Regions from separate parts of the Homo sapiens genome. Here all the other regions are linked to region 1. The links are contacts of gene promoters, found by promoter capture Hi-C in blood cells and fetal thymus (Javierre and others, 2016). All regions are on one chromosome and are shown on one strand. Each heading gives the region's core, a stretch centred on a gene start or on the middle of the fragment in contact. The rest is flanking DNA. Distances are from core to core; before and after follow the strand shown. Region 1 holds the start of FTX (FTX transcript, XIST regulator). Region 2 holds the start of TAF1 (TATA-box binding protein associated factor 1). Region 3 holds the start of OGT (O-linked N-acetylglucosamine (GlcNAc) transferase). Region 4 overlaps MAGEE1 (MAGE family member E1). Region 5 has its middle 6.9 kb from the start of PIN4. Region 6 overlaps ERCC6L (ERCC excision repair 6 like, spindle assembly checkpoint helicase). Region 7 holds the start of RPS4X (ribosomal protein S4 X-linked).

Region 1 (2,657 bases), core at 113-2,612:
GCATGCCTATTTCTCTTTTTTCTTCTTCATATGCACATTGTTGTATAATTTTTTGGGCGTATTATATAACAAATGCAAACCCATTTTTCTCTGAATAATGTTGATATAACATTCTTAAGTTAATTTGAGAGGATGGTGATGTATAAGTTTATGAGTTTTAGGATTTATGAATTTGCGGGTCTCAGTTTTTGGTATTTCCAAACTGGCTCTTTTAGAAAGCAATAAGAACCAGACACCAAAGTAAAACATAATAAAGAGAAACAAAATATTATTTTGTATTCTTTCTAGTTCACACCCAAAGAGGGATCTATTTCAGAGCCTCTTAAGTAAATAATGCCATTTCCCTCAAAATTAATATTTGAGTTCTTACAGAAGACAAGAACAGGCCTTGTAGTAAGCAGTGAAGGACATTGAATCTCATTTTTAATGTCCAGACAATACCAGGGTTGTGAATAGAAAGAAAAGAGCTTTCCATGTTGGTGGTCTACTGCCTCTTACCCCCAAATTGATTGAACACTTTTGCAGTTTTTGTTCTGGTTCCCTGTCTCTGGATCTTCCCTGTGGGTCATCATCAAAAAGGTGTTCTCTTTGCCCAAGACAGGCTGGTTGAGCTCACCCTGAGAGCTGCTTTGGAGAGGATGTGTGGAAATATTTTTTTTCTTTTTTTGAGATGGGGTCTCACTCTGTTGCCCAGGCTGGCAACATCATAGCTGGCACAATCATAGCTCACTGTAGCCTCGACTTCCTGGGCTCGAGTGATTCTTCCACCTCAGCCTTCTGAATAGCTGGGAGTACAGGTGCGCACCACCACGCCCGGCTAATTTTTGTATTTATTTGTAGAGACGGGGTTTCGCCATGTCACCCGAGCTGGTCTCGAACTCCTGAACTCAAGGGTTCCGTCCACCTCGGCCTCCCAAAGTGCTGGGATTACAGGTGTGAGCCACCGCGCCCGGGCTACAATTATTTAAAAAAAAATTTTTGCGGTAATTTTTACAAATTTCAACATCAGGCATAGGAGGAGAGGAGTAAGAGGCCCAAGAGGGCTGCAGACTGGCAGGGAAAGTGAAGAATTGAAGGGTAGACCACTAACGATAGCAGAGGAAATAAAGGTAGATGGTGGGCTAAGAATAATGGGAGAGGGATTGACGAAAGAAGTATGGGCTGAGGGAGGGATGATGGTGGAGGCCAGTGTGACCGAGGGGAGGGGAAAGGTGGAAGAAGCAGAGTGGGATAGCGTCCTGGGAAAGAAGTGAAGGAGGTCGGTGGACCGCTAAGGGTTAGACTCCTAGAGGCTGGAGAGCGGCGCGTGGGGGAGGCGGGGCGCGGAGGGGGGGTTAAGGGGCGTTAGCAGCGCATGCGCTGGAAGCACACTGCGGCGATTCTGGAGAGGTTGTCCTTTTCTGGCATCAGCGTTGCGGCTCGAGGCAAAGCTGGTCCTGTGCCTGCTGTCCATTGCCGCTAAGGCCTGCTGCTGCCATTCAGGCGTGTCTCTCTCTCTCTCTCTCTTTCATGCCGCTCTCTCCACCCCATCTTGGGACGGCCAGCTCTAAGAATTCCTGCTACGACACTGAATTCAACCAGGAGGTAAAGGAACGATGTAGGGGAAGAACAGAACATGGAGGGCGGCGGAGGGAACTTGGGCCAGGAAGATCCTTAATTTGTGCATTTTTCCAGTTCACGGGAGGAAAAAATGGAATACGTTACAGGCCCCAGTTTTCCAAAAGGATGTTGAGCATTTGCTTCCCATTGTGAAAGGAATGCGGGTTCCTTTCCTCTAACTAGAGTCAAGGCACCTGAGCATCGGTGTTTTCCATAATGTTCCCTGTTTAAAACATTTGTGGTTCGTCATTTGTAGCAGATGTATTTAAAGGGCGAGGCCTTAGGATTATGTTCATCCGATGGTTTGTGAAAGTTTTCCTTGCCTTTGTTCAGGTTGACCGGTCTTATGTGAATCCTGGGGTACTCTAGCCCCCTCCCTTGGAGTTGGGACCGATTCCATCTAGATCTGGGATTCACTCTGATCACCTGCAACGCCTTCTTTCCCCGATTCAACTTCCCTAGTTTATCGCATCTACTCGCATTAGGGAAGGCTGGTAATGGCTCTCCTTGGGCACTGGGGCAGAATTGTGGCGAGAAACACGTCCAGATAGCATCAGGCATGCATACTGTATACAAATGGGAGCAAGAAGAGAGAGGACTATCGCGGTGCGCAGGGTATTTGAGAGGCTGGATGAGGAGGCGCGGCGCCGAGGGGCGGCGCTCAAGCTTACAGTATTTGAGAAGACCTGAGTTAAGGGGACGGGCTCCAGTGGGGCGGGGGTGGGGAGAGGGAGGCACGCATGCGCAAGGCTTGAATGGCGTCGGGGTTGGAGGGTTGGAAGGTCGGGAAGTGAAGGACTCGCAGGCATATTTAACAACGCAAAGTTGCTAGGAGTTGGTACCAGCGTTTGGGAGGTAGAGGTGGCGCTCATGCATATTTGAGACAACATCTGGATGGTTGGGGAGAACGGTAAGGAGGAAGCGGCGCGCATGCGTATTTCAGACGGAGTGCCGGGGAGGGGAGGCGCTCAGCATTCGGGTAATTAAGGTTGCAAAATGGCGAGGGGGGAGGTAAGCTGTCTTTGCTTGGCCATCTTGGGCTAGCAGGCCTTGCAGAG
Region 2 (2,657 bases), core at 54-2,553, 2.9 Mb after region 1:
GTGGCTAGCCTCCTCCCCCGCCTACTCCCCACAACCCAGACTTCACCTTCATCATTTACCAAGGCACCGTCAGTCCCGGTCAATTCTTCATTTGCCGTGAGTTCAGTGATCAGGCTGCCCAGCCCCAAAGCCCCCAAGCCTGCCAAGTGCTTCTTACATTCCTGAAAAAGGGACAGCACGAGTCGAAGATAACAACTAAACCTACGACTCCCACACCACAGGACTTATTTCCCTGGTCCACGACAAAGTCACAAATCCACATGAAAAATGACTGTGCAGTGTGCCAAAACAAGCAACACGTTCGAGAACTGTAATATACATCTACCAAACTCCGCATCGATCAGATCTTTATTAAAGCACCACAGCCAACTGCATCGCCCACACTTTAAAGTATACTACAAGAGAAGACGAATCAAATAACTACTGCCAAGACTGAATGAATGGAACGGTCGTTCTCGGAACGAGGGCCGAGGCAGGGGGATCAGTGGGATTGGAGGCGTCGAGGCGGGGCTCGTTCGGTCCCTGTTTCGCATGCGCCTGCGGCACAGGAGGGGCCACAGCGGCCGACAGCTTCACTCCTCAAGAAAACGGGCCTAAGTGAAGGCAGGGTAGTTTCACTAGGGCGCAGGACACTATTTCACGAAAGTCAGTGAAGACGCTGGGAGAGCCACCTAAAAGGCGCACTGTGACCAGGAGGCCCGCTCGGGTGCTAGGAACACCCCATTGTCCTAAGCCTGAGGCCGGAACCAAACGAGCGGGAGGCAGGTCCTGTCCAGTCCTCTGGCTCTATAGAGCCATCTCAGGGCAGCGATGTCAGAGGGGCAGGCAGTGTCAAGAATCTCCAAGCAGGTTACGGGTGGGAAGCCATCTCAGTAGGCGAAACCAGCATGTGTCCTACTGTCTGGTCGGCAGAGCGCTAGCTCCAAAGCCACTATTCCCTGCGCCCCTGGCCCCGGGCTCGCCTCGCGCTCTCTTCTGCCCACTCTCCCCCAGAACGATCACTCCCACGCCACGTTGCTCCCGCACCCATGAGGACGGGATCCTCCTCCCCGGCGTTAGCTGCGCCCTGTTCTCGCTGCCTGAGCACCCTCTCCTTTCCTCCCCGCACCTCCTTCCTCTGCTTAGCCCCACCCCCCGAGCCCTACCCCCACGCCCACCCCCTCACATCATCCAAGACGCTTTCCCCCTCCAGCTGCCCGGCTCCATTGATGTTGCCGAAAAGGAAACCCGCTAAAGAAAATGGGCCGCCTCCAGCGGAATCTTCGTCGCTGTCCGTGTCTGACATGATGGCGGCAGCAGTGATGGTAGCTGCTGTCCGCAGCAGCAAATCGCAGCCGGGTCCCATAGACCGGAAATAAAACAACAGTCGCCCAGAAGTGACTTACTGAGCTCCCTTACCCTACCAGCCTCTACCGGAAGCTCAAAACAGAGGGGAAAGGGAGGGGGAAGTGGGGAGAGGGGAGGGGGAAGGGGGGGAAAACCCGGAAAGACCGGCTATCCTAAGAGAAAGAAGTAACTACTTTACTAACGGCTTTTGATTCGACGCTACGGGATCAGGAGGATGGATATGTGGAAAGCGGTTGGTCAAAGAAAATATTCAGTCCCGCCCGCTCCCACTGCTCCGCGCGCGAGCTTTCTCACGGCACCGAATTAGAGCAGTGGCTCTTCCTCCAATCAGAAGGAGCTGCTCGAGTCACGTGGCTTACGCGCAGGCAACCTCGGGTTCCTGTACCACAATACCCGGAAGTAAGGGTAAGAGCCGGTCTTTGTGCTGCGTGCAATTTCACCGGTCCGTCCCAAGGAGAGACTTGACGTAAATTATACAGGCATTCCCGAGCTATGCAGGTTACTTGTTTTGAGTTGACATTTTTCCCTAGAAATTGATTTTTTGACCGGACGCGGTGGCTTACGCCTGTAATTCCAGCACTTTGAGAGGCCGAGGTGGGAGGATCGCTTGAGCCCACGAGTATGAGGCCAGCCTGGACAAGAAAGCGAGACTCCATCCATACACAAAATCAAAAAAATTAGCCAGATGTGGTGGCCAGTGCCTGTAGTCCCAGCTGTTGGGGGGTCTGAGGTGGGAGCCAGGAGTTGGAGTCTGCAGTGACCTGTGATCGGGCCACTGCACTCCAGCCCGCCTCAAAAAAAATACTTGTTCCCCCAACGTTTTATTTCGGAAAATGTGAAAGTTTAGTAAAATGAACAGCTGACCCCTCACCTAGACTCACAATGGTTAACATTTTGCTAGGATTTTTGTTTTTCTAAACCATTTATGGGCATCTTGTTCTTCACTCCTAAAAATAAGCATCTTAACTATGGAACCAAAGTACCTTTATCACAACTTTAGGAAGTAAGTCAATATTATTTAAGGAAGAGTCCGCACTTAAATTTCCCCAGTTGTCCTAGTTGGAACATTTTACGGGGTTTCGTCATGTTGCACAGGCTGGTCTCAGACTCCTGGGCTCAAGCAATCTGCCCGTTTCAGCCTCCCAAAGTGCTGGGATTGCAGCCATGAGCCAACACCCCGGCTTTCACCTTGCTTTTTTCACATATTATGATAATATAGACTGAAATAATTTCTTTACCACATCATAGCACTCTTCCTCATTCTCCCTTTTTTCCAATACTAGGATCCATTCACGTTTCATGCATTGTAT
Region 3 (2,657 bases), core at 76-2,575, 2.8 Mb after region 1:
GGAAAGGCAGCTGAAGGACACTCCTACAATTTGGTTGTTTTCGTATTTTCAGTACCAAATGCTCGCGACTGAAGTGTCTAAAAGGGCAACCGCCTTGTACTTGTGCAGCTACACTCCAGTTGCTTTACAAACTCTTCAAGCAGGGATGGAAACTTAAAAGAATATTACACCCTGTGAATAAAGAGATACTGGGCTGAAGAATGGGGATGGCAGACCCAGAGGCGGCGGCGGAGGAATACATCGAGAAAGTAACACAAAGCGAGAATTGGGCGGGCAGGGTGGTCAACGCCAAAGCAGCAGCATCGGGGTGGTTTCTCCCCCAAGGATAGGAAGTGAACAGGGCTGGCAACCTCGCGAAGGGAAGGGTGTGGTTCCCCGCGGACAGGGTGGGAAATCCAGGCTGAGGGCAGCGGTGGAATTGGGCGATGGCAAAGGAAACCCCTGGAAATTTCCAATCTAAACCGGGACCGCTCAACCGAAAGAACACCAGAAAGGCACTGCCTAGCAGGGTGCTGCTCAATGTCCCCTCTTCTCGAGGTGACTTGTGGCACCATCGACGAGCTTTTGATCGTCCTCGGGTGATGCAAAGTGAGGATATGATTACATCGGAACGGCACCCCCGCCCTAGATTGGCAGAGAAGGACCAAATCTGGCTAAGGGGAAAAGACTGGGGGGGGAGATGAAGGAGGAGATGGAGGGGAAAAAGGAGAGGCGATGAGCTGGAATTAGGGGAGAAAACCGCTGCAAAGGAGTGAAAGGGCAGGGATTCCAATGCAGTCCATTCCACGACATTCTAAGCGCGCACGTGTGATAAAAGCGCCTGGAGAGAGTGGAATGCTAGAACATTTACGAAATAAAAACAAAGCAAGAAAGGCAGCAAAAAGCAAGCAAGGGAGGAGGAGGAAATGTTCGGGAAGCGGACAACAGCGGAAAACCCGATGTGATCAGATGCCAGTAGACCACGAAAAGCTTAGCAATGTCACTGATGTAATGGGGATGGTTCGAGGGAAGGGAGGGAAGGAGTGATACAAGGTAGAGGACGGCGCGAGACCCCAAGGGGGCATCTGCCAAGGTAGAACGGGACACCGGTACCTGTGCTGTCGGCCACGTTGCCCACGGAAGACGCCATCTGGAGCTTCTCGAGGGAGAGCAAAAAAGAGGTAATTGGTCCTGCTGCCGCCACTACCAGCAAGAACGTATTTGGAGGTAGTAGTACAAGGGCAGCAGCCGTAGCAATGCTCTGGAGGGCTTGAGCGGCGGCAGCAGTTACAGGCTTCAAACCCTGGGAACTCTAATTGACCATCTACCTAGTACGGTCTTGAAATGGCGGCGACGGCTCCTCGGCCGAAACAACATGGGCCGGAACTACTTTCTGTTACAATCAAGTGCCCGCGCGGAGGTAGCCGGTAACCAGCGCCGCCAACAAAATGACTTCAAGCTGCAAAGTCGAGATTCCATGTAGTCCTCCGCGCAGCGCCCATTGCGACAAACACCACGGTGGAGACCGCGCATGCGAGCAGCCCTGTCAACCCGACTCGTGGTTAGGGCACTCTCTGGGGCGGAAGCGGCCAAGTTTCTTAAGAGTGTAGCGGAAGGGTAAAAACAAACACACACGGGACGGATACGTTTTTGCCACCGCGATTAAGAAGAGTGTTTGTTACTTAGCAGGTGGTGTCGTTTTAAACATAAATGCCAAAGGCGTCTAAAAAAGTTTATCAACTGTATTCGTACAAAAACGGATGGTTACGACTCTCACGGATCAATTCTGAGCCAGTCAATTCAGAAGATTGCCTCTCAAAGACAGCTGCTCAAAACGAGGAGCGAGAGGGTTCCGATTTGAGCCCGTCTTCATTGTGACTCGGCCATCGATTTCAGCACTTCGATGAAAAAGACTGAAGCTTTCACAGGGCCAGTTGAATGCAGACACCTTCAATGTTGGCCGTATAGCCTGAAATTTCAAAATCGTTTTGGTATTCAGAATACTCCTGCCCACGGTGATAGGGCAAATGTTTAATAACTCAGGGACATGCTGGGCGTTTGCACTCCGAAGGCAGCCATAAAAATGTTAAAGGTGATTCACGTTCGTCAAAATCCATGACTCTCCTCGAGTTGTGACTTCATTTCCACCAGCTAGCTCTGCACATTGTCACAGTCGGCGATTCCACTGAGCTCAAAGCAGATCAACAATGATAAATGAATTCACTTGCCATCTGCCTAAACCACACGTCTAGATTGAGTCATGAATTGCCTCTACTTCCTTGAACAAATCGGTTCTTACGATCTTCCTGCAGTTTCAAGTCTACTGTTCAGACATTTTGTCACATTGGTATTTATACTTCACCTCTTGTTCTAGAAACGACTTAAGGTAGCTTGCCACATCAGCAAGAAAGTATTACAAGCCACTGGAGGCTACAAGTTGGATCTCTGAGAGCCTTTTTATTTCAAAAAGTCCTTGATCTAAGAAAGCAGGTCAATGAATTTCTTCAAAAAGTTTTTGCTACCTAGCCCCTTCACTACATTTTTTAAAACTAAGTCCTCAAATTCTGCTTAAATTTCTTCAAAACAGTCAACAAACAATTAATTATGGAAATGGCACAGAGAAAATTCATAATGCTAATTTCTTCCATCCCATAATCAAGAGTCACATCATGCAGTGA
Region 4 (2,657 bases), core at 118-2,617, 2.1 Mb before region 1:
CCCCACACCTGTTGAACCCAAAACAACTCCCCAGTAAAATTTCTGCAAGGAAATCACTCACAGTCTCATTCCTGGAAAAAATCAACATGCAACAATATCACTTATATATTGCTAACTACATGTCAAGTGCTCTTGTGTTTTACATGTTAACACATTTAATCCCCAACATTATGGCGTAGGTGAAATTATTATGCCCATTTTACAGATGAAAAAATGGAGGCACAAAGGAGTTAAGTAACTTGCCTGAGTTCTCATCTCTAGTATCAGAGAGAGCCAGGGTTTGTACCCAGGCACTTTGACTCTAGACTACATGCTCTTACTACTATGTTCTAATGCCTTTTAACCTTGATACCACGGAGTTTGATTTCCAAGGTGTTTTTTAAAAGATAACAGGCTTTCTGACTTCAATTTCTTTAAATTTGATTTTGTTCAGAAAATAACACCTCTTTTCATAGGTACATTAAGAAGAAATTACTATGCTAAAATTAGAGTTTCTGCCCTCCCCACCCCCTTTAGTTTTTCAATATGAGAGCCAAAAGAATCCTGTCAAAACTAAGTGGTTTCCTGCCATCGCTCAGATCAAAAGCCTTAAATAGTTTTCCATCTCACTCACAACTAAAGCCAAATTCTTATATGGTAGACTAATTTTTTATTCAAAAATATATGTTCTTCCTCTCTACTGGGCCCATTCCTATATGTTCTTCCCTGTAGAAGGAGTACACTTCCCAGCTCATTGACATCAAGCTTGCCCATGTGACTTGCTTTTGCCAATGGATTATGACTACAATATGCCATATATGAGCATAGGCTTTGAAAACTATCACATGGTTCCACTATGGCTCTTTTACTTCTGCCACAAGAACAGGTGTCCCATATATGATTTACTCCTTTAGCCTGGTTACCTGAAGGAAGACAATATAAACAGAATCACAGACAGCCCATGAAAGGGATGTAAAATGAGCCCAAAATTTTGTTGTTGTAAGCCTCTGAGATTTGGGTATTTTTTAAAAACCCACAGCATAACTTAGAGAAAGCTGGCTCATGTATCTTATTGAAACCATTGATGACACAATATATCCTGCTCTCTGGCCTTACATCTTTGACTTTTTTTCCTACCAGCACACATAAAGACTGAAATCCAGCCTTGAATCAGTTTAATTCATGATTGTATTAGGGACCCCATCTTGGCTGGGCACGGTGGCTCACGCCTGTAATCTCAGCACTTTGGGAGGCTGAGGTGGACAGATCACGAGGTCAGGAGTTTGAGACCAGCCTGGCCAAAATAGTGAAACCCCGTCTCTACTAAAAATACAAAAATTAGCTGGGTGTGATGGCACTTGCCTGTAGTCCCAGCTACTCTGGAGGCTGAGGCAGGAGAATTTCTTGAACCCAGGAGGCAGAGGTTGCAGTGAGCCGAGATCATGCCACTGCACTCTAGCCTGGGCAACAGAGCGAGACTCTGTCTCAAAAAAAAAAAAAAAAAAAAAGACCCCATCTTGTCCCCACCCCACATACCCAACAGCTTCCTTAAGGACCACCCTGAACACCCCAGGAATTGGTCAGTTGTGCCTCTTTTTAACTACCATAGCACTCTCTATTTTTCTATTGTAGCACATAGTACACCATAATAAATTGGTGATTTAAATGACCTCCCCCTGTACCCTATCCAGCCTCTGAATTCTTGGGCAGGTACTATATCTTGTAAACTTTTATACTTCTATAACTAGGGCACACCACTGTGCTCACTGTATGAAAGCAGTTGAATAAGTCAGTGTATTAGCATTATGTTTCATTTATTAATCTTTTATTTTTCATTACATTTTAGTACAGCAAAGCAAATACAGGTAAACATCAGTATTCTTCATACAATAGCAGACAGAAAGGGAAGCCAGCCACAATTTAGAGTGCCTTTTCAGTTGTTGTTATATTTGTTTGTTAGTTTATCACTTTAAGCTAGATTATTTTACTGGCGAATTTTTTTCAAGCTTTCAAGGAAAAGCCTATATCTATAGCTATATGCTATATTCTTTTCTAGATAATGCAACAAGATGGAAAGATTTCCAAAACATTTTATAGAGCTATCAAAACTCATACCAAAATACAACAGAGACAGCAAGTGGTCAATCACATTTACCCAATCAGACAATATATTAAAACAGTTGAAACATTTCCAGACACCACACCAGAACTAAATATGAAAAGACATAAATATAACTGGAACACAAATACCAAATACAATATGTACCCACCCCCACCCCCCAATACATGAGAACTGAGGCTCAAAGGCCCCTCCTTGCAAGGCCCCTCTGACTGCCATGCATTCCTCTACCTGAAGTTGTGAACAAAGATTTGCCTGTGCCCAACATCAGCTCTATTGGCCTCATCTTCCATTGCCTCCCTGTACTGCTGTGGCCAGTCCTGTGGTTCCTTTCTGTGGATTCTGGCCACATATCGCAAGGCTTTCATCTTAGAGGTTTCCAAACGGGCTCTAGGACCCCATACAAACTCATATTGCACTGGATCACTGTCAGGAACCCGTAAACTGTCTATATAGCGCTGACTCAAGTATCTGCAGGTAATCACATGCTTTCTCCCAGCTTGAACCCCTAAGCCCCGCAGAAAGGCCCAGACTGCAGACTCCCTGGCATGGTTGCCCA
Region 5 (2,657 bases), core at 103-2,602, 2.1 Mb after region 1:
TTCCACAATGGTCAAACCAATTTACACTCCCACCAACAGTGTAAAAGCCTTCCTATTTCTCCACATTCTCTCCAGCATCTGTTGTTTCCTGACTTTTTAATGATTGCCATTCTAACTGGCATGAGATGGTATCTCGTTGTGGTTTTGATTTGCATTTCTCTGATGACCAGTGATGATGAGCGTTTTTTCATGTGTCTGTGGGCTGCATAGATGTCTTCTTTTGAGAAGTGTCTGTTCATACCATTTGCCGACTTTTTGATGGGGTTGTTTTTTTTTTCTTGTAAATTCGTTTTGAGTTCTTTGTAGATTCTAGATATTAGCCCTTTGTCAGATGGGTAGATCGCAAAGATTTTCTCCTATTCTGTAGGTTGCCTGTTCATTCTGGTGGTAGTTTCTTTTGCCGTGCAGAAGCTCTTTAGTTTAACTAGATCCCATTTGTCTATTTTGGCTTTTGTTGTCTTTGCTTTTGGTGTTTTAGTCATGAAGTCCTTGCCCATGCCTATGGCCTGAATGGTATTGCCTAGGTTTTCTTTTAGGGTTTTATGGTTTTGTGTCTAACATTTAAGTCTTTAATCCATCTTGAATTAATTTTTGTATAAGGTGTAAGGAAGGGATCCAGTTTCAACTTTCTACATATTAGGCTAGCCAGTTTTCCCAGCACCATTTATTAAATAGGGAATCCTTTCCCCATTTCTTGTTTTTGTCAGGTTTGTCAAAGATCCGATGGTTGTAGATGTGTGGTATTATTTCTGAGGCCTCTGTTCTGTTCCATTGGTCTATATATCTGTTTTGGTACCAGTATCATGCTGTTTTGGTTCCTGTAGCCTTGTAGTACAGTTTGAAGTCAGGTAGCATGATGAGTGGCCAAAGAATTTTCTAACCCACTTCATACTAGGTAATGAAGCTTTAAGTGACTGGTTTTTCAAAAAGGACTTCAGAGAAGAAGGCTCCATCTGTGTTTGTCCAGCATTATCTAAGCAAAAGAACTACAGTTTCTGGAAGACCTTACTATACCAGTATCTCATGAGGTAGATTTTGTTTTTTAGAGGCAGTGTTCACTTAAGACAGTGGAAAACAACCAACACAAATTGCACACGTACTATGAGCCAGGAGCTTTCCCTTCGTGATCTCTTTTAGAGTTCACAACAGCCTTATTTGGAAAATATTACTATTGCCATCTTTTTTTATTTTTATTTTTTCGAGACAGAGTTTCGCCCTGTCACCCAGGATGGAGTGCAGTGGCACAATCTCGGCTCACTGCAACCTCCGCCTCCTAGATTCAAGCAATTCTCCTGCCTCCACCTCCCGAGTAGCTGGGACTACTGGTGCCTGCTACGATGCCTGGCTAATTTTTGTAGTTTTAGTAGAGACAAGGTTTCACCATGTTGACCAGGCTGGTCTCAAACTCCTGACCTCAAGTGATCCGCCTGCCTCGGCCTCCCAAAGTTCTAGGATTACAGGTGTGACCCACCCCACCCAGCTCTATTACCACCTTAAAGCTGAAGAAATAGGGTCAGAGAAGTTAAGAAATGTGCCCCAAGTTTCACAGCTAGCTAGGGTCTGTGGTAAGGTTGGGCAACGAACTCGTCTGTCTGACTTCCAAGTTGGTACCCTCTCCATGATGCCATGCTACTCCAGGCTTTGCCATCCCCTAAATGAAATCTAAGAACATCCAGTTCTCTTTTTTCTGAGAGCATGTTCACCAAATCAGCCCTCCAGGGACCTTGAGGCATTTAGGGACACTGTGCAAGAGGCCACAGGGTCAAGTTATACCCCCAACATGGGACATAAATAAGCTTTGGTTTATGCATCAGTATGTTATTATGAGTAACCTGGAATGTGCTCTCCTCTGCCTGCGGTGCTGGACCTTCCAGGCTGCAGAAGCACAGAGGCAAGGAGAAGGAACATAGTATGGGTGGGGGACAGTGGGCAGGGTACTGTAGACAAGGAAGAGGGGAGCTGCTGGGGAAGAGGTCTTCTGCATCCTCAGCCTTGGGCACTGGTCTCCATGTTCAGTGGATTCTGCCTCCTAAACAACACTTCTCCCTGCCCCCCATAATTTTATGGTGAACAGTGAACATTTTGCTAGATTTGCTTTATCACATATTCACCCATCAATTTTTCTTATTTTTGTTGCATTTCAAAGCAAGTTACAGACATCAGCACACTCCATCCCTAAACACTTCAGTTGTCATAATGTTAACTAGGAGTCACTAATTACCTCTGGCTTGTCCCCTGCCCTCCCCGCCACTGCCATAGCCTTCTGCATATTCTCTAGACCATCGGAACATTGATCCCTCTGCTGCCAGTTTCACCTTCTCTTCAAACTACCTTCTGCGGCATCTCAGAGGGAGCTCTTAGAAACACAGAACTGATACTGTGACTCTCCCAGTTAAGACCCTTCAGTGACTCCCCATTGTCTGATAGGACACTATCTCACTTTGTAACCTGGAGGCCCAGGGCCCATTATACTGACATCTGCAGCCTCATTTCTTGCTAGTCTCCACTGGGCGCAACCATATAAAGTTACTATTTACAGGCCCTATCTTAAGACTCCATGCTGATCTCTCTCCCTGGAATGCTTTCCCTTATTTTTGATCTGGCTAATTCTTATTTACCTTTCAAGACTGAGCTCAGATGATACCTCCTTCCTGGAA
Region 6 (2,657 bases), core at 64-2,563, 2.1 Mb after region 1:
GGTAGATGGGGGAAGGGGCTATGAACCAAGGAATGTGTATGGCCTCTGGAAGCTGGAAAAGCAAGAAGCACATTCTCCCCCTAGAGCCTCCAGAAAGGAACACAGCCTTGCTGCAACCTTAATTTTAGCCCAGTGAGACCTGTGTCAGACTTCTAACCTATATAACCTGCAAGATATAACCTGTAAGATAAAAGATAATACTTTGTGTTGTTTTAACATTTGTGATGATTTGTAACGGCAGCAATAGGAAACTAATACATTTTGCTAAATCCAACTCTGGCCCTCTCAGATGAACATGGTTGAAGAAACAATCATGTGACTGGTCTTACTTGAAATCCATCAATATCGATGTCAAGCAGGCCCTTCATGCTGCCTGGCAATCATAGTACATTTCTCTAATGTATTCACTCATCCATTGTACTAGATGCCTGTTTCATGCCTTCTTGCTTTTCAGACCCTCAACATCTCACCCTCATCTCTCTTGCTTCCAATTTCACTGGGTTGATAGAAGCAATCAGAAGACAGTTTCCAGAAGCTTCTTCCATATCAACCTACTTCCCAGCATTATTCCCTCTGTGTTCTTTGCCTTCTGTCCTGTTAGTATGGATGAACTCTCCATGCTTCTAGCTAAGGCACAACCCCTCCATTTGTGCAAAAGATCTCATCCCTTGTCACTCACTGGTATAAGGACTTCAGCCCACCAATTCTTTCATTGTTAAAAAAAAAAATCCTCTCTTGATCCTATTTTCATTTCCAGTTATTGCTCCATTTCTTCTCTTTCCTTTACAGCAAAATTCCAGGTGTCATATCATTGTCTACACTTGTCATTTCCTATTTCTTTTCTCCTAACTTCTGTTGAACTCGTCCCAATCAGGTTTTCACCCCATCACTTTACACAAACTGCTTTTATCAAAGTCACCAATGACATTCATATAACTAAATCCAACAGTCAATTCTCAATCTTCATCTACCTCGACCAGTAGTACTTGACGAAGTTAATCACTTCTCCATGAAACACATGATTCATTAGTCTTCCAAGGAGCCCTTGCTCTCCGGATTTTCTTCTTACTTCACTGACTGCTGCTTCAGATTCTGTTGATATTCCTCCTCATATCTTCTAAGATAATTTAAATCCCCAGATATGACATTTCACGCTGAAATACTTAAGTATATATTCCTTAAAAAGAACATATTCTTTTTTTTTTTTGAGACGGAGTCTTGCTCTGTTGCCCAGGCTGGAGTGCAGTGGCGCAATCTCAGCTCACTGCAACCTCTGCCTCCCAGGTTCAAGTGATTCTCTGCCTCAGCCTCCCAAGTAGCTGGGATTACAGGCACCTGCTACCACGCCAGGCTAATTATTGTATTTTTAGTATGGGGTTTCACCATGTTGGCCAGGCTGGCCTCAAACTCCTGGCCTCAGGTGATTCACCTGCCTCAGCCTCCCAAAGTGCTGGGATTACAGGCATGAGCCCCCTTGCCCGGTCAAAAAAAAAACCATATTCTTACAAAACCACCATGCCATATCACACCTAACAAAATAAATGAATTCATTGATATTATCTAATACATAGTCCATATTCAAATTTTTTTTTTTTGAGACGGAGTCTTGCAGTGTCATCCGGGCTGGAGTGTGGTGGCGCAATCTCGGCTCACTGTAAACTTCGCCTCCTGGGTTCAAGTGATTCTCCTGCCTCAGCCTCCCGAGTAGCTGGGATTACAGGCACCCACCACCATGCCCAGCTAATTTTTTGTATTTTTAGTAGAGACAGGGTTTCACCATGTTGGCCAGGCTGGTCCTGAACTCCTGACCAGTGATTCGCCTGCCTCGGCCTCCCAAAGTGCTGTGATTACAGGCGTGAGCTACCATGCCCAGCCTCAAATTTTTGAATGGTTTATCAGGATCCAAAGAAGGTCTACAACTTCATTTGGGTTTTATGTTTCTTGAACTTCTAATCTAGAACAGTTCTCCCCTCCCCTCCACTTTTATTTCTATGACAATGATTTGAATTAGTGTGATGTCTTCCTTGTAGTGTCATTAGTTTGTTCTGTCTCCTATAATTTAAACTAAAGGCTTGATAAGATTAAGCTTCAATATTTTTGGCATGAATACTTTATAGGGAAGGCTGTGTAGCTATATTGTGTCATATCAGGAAGTATATAACATCTGACTTTCCTACTTTCAATAATGCTATTGAAAGGTTGATCAATGGGTTCAGTGATTACAATCTGATTCCTCCTTTGCAAAGTTGCATTTCCCCCTTATGATGAGGAAGTAATACGTTCAGGATAGCTTAGTATTCTGTGAATATCCAGTTCCCCACCAACCCATCAGGCTTTCAACCATTGATAATTATTGCTCAAATCAGTTTTTTTTTTTAAAGAGATGGGGTCTCCCTATGTTGCCCAGGCTGGTCTTGAACTCCTAGTCTCAAGCGATCCACCTGCCTCAGCCTCCCAAAGTGTCAAATCAGTTATTAGAGATTACAAAGTGGTGATTTTCTTTTCTGAGACGGAGTTTCGCTCTTGTTGCCCAAGCTGGAGTACAATGACGCGATCTCAGCTCACTGCAACCTCCACCTCCCGGGTTCAAGTGATTCTCCTGCCTCAGCCTCCTGAGTAGCTGGGATTACAGGTGGGTGCCACCACACCCGGCTAAT
Region 7 (2,657 bases), core at 100-2,599, 2.0 Mb after region 1:
AGGCGCAGTGGCTCAGGCCTGTAATCCCAGCACTTTGGGAGGTCGAGGCGGGCGGATCGCTTGAGTCCAGGAGTTTGAGACCAGCCTAGGTAACATGGCGAAACCCCGTCTCTACAAAAAAATAAAACTACAAAAAATTAGTTGGGTGCAGTGGCGTGCGCCTGTTGTCCCAGCTACTCGTGGGGGCTGAAGTGAGAGGATCGCTTGAGCCCGGGCTGTCTGTCGAGGCTGCAGTGAGCCATGCACTACAGCCTGGGTGACAGAGTGAGACCCTGTCTCCCAAACAAACAAACAAAAAGAGCTGACTCCCTCGGAACAAACTAGCTTGGTGGGGCTTGAGCTTTGAAGTTTGGGATTGGGGAGAGAGAGCAATGGAGCCAGATAAAGTTCAGACCTGCTCCCTTACGGCAGGAAACAGAGGGCCAAGGGCAGTTTCGAAGCAGGATCAGATCTACATTTTAGTTAGATATAACCAGACGATTTCTAATATCCTCTCTCCTCCCTGAGTCTCTATAAGTGCCAAATGCGTTGTACAGGAAGCAAGGGGGAGGATGTCAGAGTTCAAGCAGAGAAGCAAGAGGGGGTTAAAAACGTTGTTGGCTCTTCCCAACTCAGTATGGGCTGCCTGGCTGGCTCAAGGGAACACAAAAAAGGGACAGACAAAATACGTTTAAGAAATAACATTAAATATTTATTAAAATGTATTCTATTGATTATATACAAGTTCTTTGTTTTGTTTTGTTTTGTTTTGTTTTTGAGACGGAGTCTCGCTCTGTCGCCCAGGCTGGAGTGCAGTGGCGCGATCTCGGCTCACTGCAAGCTCCACCTCCGGGGTTCACGCCATTCTCCTGCCTCAGCTTCCCGAGTAGCTGGGACTACAGGCGCCCGCCACTATGCCCGGCTAATTTTTTTGTATTTTTTTTTAGTATAGACGGGGTTTCACTGTGTTAGCCAGGATGGTCTCGATCTCCTGACCTCATGATCCGCCCGCCTCGGCCTCCCAAAGTGCTGGGATTACAGGCGTAGAATCATCTGTACGTGAGACTGGAAGTAAGCTCACTTTGAACTCTCCTTGAGGCCAGGGATGTTGTGTAGCTCATCTTTGTATTCCCAGCACCTAGCACAGAATAAGGCACACAAGAGGCGCTCAGCAAATATGGGAGGAGGAAGGGCGGAAAAAGGGGAGGGAGGAAATCGCCCTTAGGAGACACCCTCTTTCCGCGGCGGTTCCTCAACTCGGGACTTCTGACCTCCCACCAGCAGATGGCAAGAAAGAGTCCCGGCGCGCCAGCAAAGGGCTGAGCTGGGCGGAGCAGCTGAAAATCCGGCGCGCGCAGTCTCCAGCCCCAATTTCTACGCGCACCGGAAGACGGAGGTCCTCTTTCCTTGCCTAACGCAGCCATGGTAAGCCGTTTAGTTAGCGAGCTCTTAGGACGTATCCGCCTCCATCCTCCCCCGGCCGGGGCTGCCCGAGGTTTCGGGATTCCTACTGGGGATGGCCGGGCAGAGGCGAAGGGATCACGGCCTCCGTGGTAGGCCGGGACGGGCTCCAGGGCGAAGGGCGAACGCTGGCCTAGGGTTGGGGAGGCGCAGATCTGGTGCTGCTGTTGGGAAGGCCTCGGTTTCTGACCCGGCCATACGTCCTGATCCCGGGAGAAGCTGCTTTTCCTCCCGGGCCGGAGCCGCGGCTGGGCCAGGAGCTCAGACTGCGAGCCCGAGGTTGGTGGGCGCTGGGGGTGCCCGGCGGAGAAAGGTTTTCTTTGTCATTGCCTTTTTGGCACGGCCTGACTTTACCATACGTGGCCGGTAAGCATCTGGACACAGCATTAAAAAGGCTTCCTTACTCTTTTTAAAGTAAAATTGGTGTCAGCTTTTGGCTTTAGTGTACGAAGGAGCAGCACATGTGTTTGTGCGGATGTCAGAATCTTGTTCCATACGTGTCAAAAACAGACGGTAATAAATTGTGAAAACTTTAGAAACACAGGTAGACTCCTGGCTCATTTCTGTTGCTGTGCGTTTCACTAGTATGGTGTTCTTGAAAGACCCTAACCTCTAAGCAGATACAGTTTCAAACAGTAACATGGAAACACTTTAGCAAGGTTCTGAAAGATAGTAATCAGTAAACGTTCTGAAACATAGTAACCAAGAATATTCTCTGTTACAATAAGAAGGCTTGTTGCAGCTTATGGATCTCACGGTGTTTGTTAAATAACTGTGTTTGTTTCTGTTTTATCGGAACACTATACTTTAATATTGTCCACATTTTGCTGAAGATGAAACTAAACTAAGAGTTTAGTTTCACACTAGGTTTTATAAGCTGTTCTGAAACCTGATTAACAGCATTGCAATCTAAAACTTTCAGGCTCGTGGTCCCAAGAAGCATCTGAAGCGGGTGGCAGCTCCAAAGCATTGGATGCTGGATAAATTGACCGGTGTGTTTGTAAGTATCTTATATAAATATTTCCGTGGCCACTGTTTTTAAGTGTCTCCCAGGACTCATTTGGGGACCAGGCTAGGGGAGGAATATCTATTCTTGGCTTCCTCTGCCCTTGAAGGAGCTATACTATCTAGCTGTCCTCCACTTCCAATCGATTTAATATTTTTGTGCCTCATTTATTCCACATACCACATAGTACATTTACATGGACTCAGGATTC

What was found. The method cuts DNA at HindIII sites, captures the fragments that hold promoters and counts their contacts. A CHiCAGO score of 5 or more calls a contact.
Region 2: the fragment with the promoter of TAF1 here is called in contact with the fragment with the promoter of FTX in region 1 in 1 of 17 cell types (neutrophils); the score reaches 6.3 in neutrophils.
Region 3: the fragment with the promoter of OGT here is called in contact with the fragment with the promoter of FTX in region 1 in 1 of 17 cell types (fetal thymus); the score reaches 7.7 in fetal thymus.
Region 4: a contact is called between a fragment that was not itself captured here and the fragment with the promoter of FTX in region 1, in 2 of 17 cell types (activated CD4 T cells and naive CD4 T cells). The highest score is 8.0, in activated CD4 T cells.
Region 5: a contact is called between a fragment that was not itself captured here and the fragment with the promoter of FTX in region 1, in 1 of 17 cell types (total B cells). The highest score is 5.9, in total B cells.
Region 6: a contact is called between a fragment that was not itself captured here and the fragment with the promoter of FTX in region 1, in 2 of 17 cell types (activated CD4 T cells and fetal thymus). The highest score is 5.4, in activated CD4 T cells.
Region 7: a contact is called between the fragment with the promoter of RPS4X here and the fragment with the promoter of FTX in region 1, in 3 of 17 cell types (total CD4 T cells, naive CD4 T cells and naive CD8 T cells). The highest score is 6.6, in total CD4 T cells.

The regions. Positions count from the first base shown.
Region 1 is chrX:74,292,279-74,294,935 of GRCh38, reverse strand. FTX (FTX transcript, XIST regulator) reads left to right here and starts at 1,362. Exons shown (of 7, transcript NR_028379.1): 1 at 1,362-1,584. It overlaps LOC124905199 (a long non-coding RNA gene), which reads left to right and starts at 2,340. Exons shown (of 2, transcript XR_007068266.1): 1 at 2,340-2,657. RefSeq lists an enhancer at 2,108-2,657. The HindIII fragment of the contact is 8,135 bases long and covers 1-2,267 here.
Region 2 is chrX:71,365,003-71,367,659 of GRCh38, reverse strand. It overlaps TAF1 (TATA-box binding protein associated factor 1), which reads right to left and starts at 1,303. Exons shown (of 38, transcript NM_004606.5): 1 at 1,166-1,303; 2 at 47-161. The coding sequence starts at 1,285. RefSeq lists enhancers at 1-693, 1,212-1,261, 1,752-1,801, 1,970-2,539 and a silencer at 1,422-1,611. The HindIII fragment of the contact is 14,477 bases long and covers 1-2,657 here.
Region 3 is chrX:71,531,772-71,534,428 of GRCh38, reverse strand. OGT (O-linked N-acetylglucosamine (GlcNAc) transferase) reads right to left here and starts at 1,325. Exons shown (of 22, transcript NM_181672.3): 1 at 1,093-1,325. The coding sequence starts at 1,129. RefSeq lists enhancers at 751-1,409, 1,235-1,574, 1,075-2,274. The HindIII fragment of the contact is 929 bases long and covers 972-1,900 here.
Region 4 is chrX:76,430,473-76,433,129 of GRCh38, reverse strand. MAGEE1 (MAGE family member E1) reads right to left here. Exons shown (of 1, transcript NM_020932.3): 1 at 1,788-2,657. The coding sequence ends at 2,326. Among named protein-coding and RNA genes, the nearest start is that of MAGEE1, 4.1 kb to the right of the region's middle. The HindIII fragment of the contact is 1,241 bases long and covers 747-1,987 here.
Region 5 is chrX:72,173,560-72,176,216 of GRCh38, reverse strand. No RefSeq gene overlaps it. Among named protein-coding and RNA genes, the nearest start is that of PIN4, 6.9 kb to the left of the region's middle. The HindIII fragment of the contact is 892 bases long and covers 907-1,798 here.
Region 6 is chrX:72,232,660-72,235,316 of GRCh38, reverse strand. The region is part of intron 1 of ERCC6L (ERCC excision repair 6 like, spindle assembly checkpoint helicase); the gene reads left to right. It also overlaps a transcript of PIN4 not described here. Among named protein-coding and RNA genes, the nearest start is that of ERCC6L, 5.0 kb to the left of the region's middle. The HindIII fragment of the contact is 1,551 bases long and covers 538-2,088 here.
Region 7 is chrX:72,275,940-72,278,596 of GRCh38, reverse strand. RPS4X (ribosomal protein S4 X-linked) reads left to right here and starts at 1,349. Exons shown (of 7, transcript NM_001007.5): 1 at 1,349-1,404; 2 at 2,363-2,440. The coding sequence starts at 1,402. RefSeq lists enhancers at 1,530-1,599, 1,770-1,849. The HindIII fragment of the contact is 11,342 bases long and covers 1-2,657 here.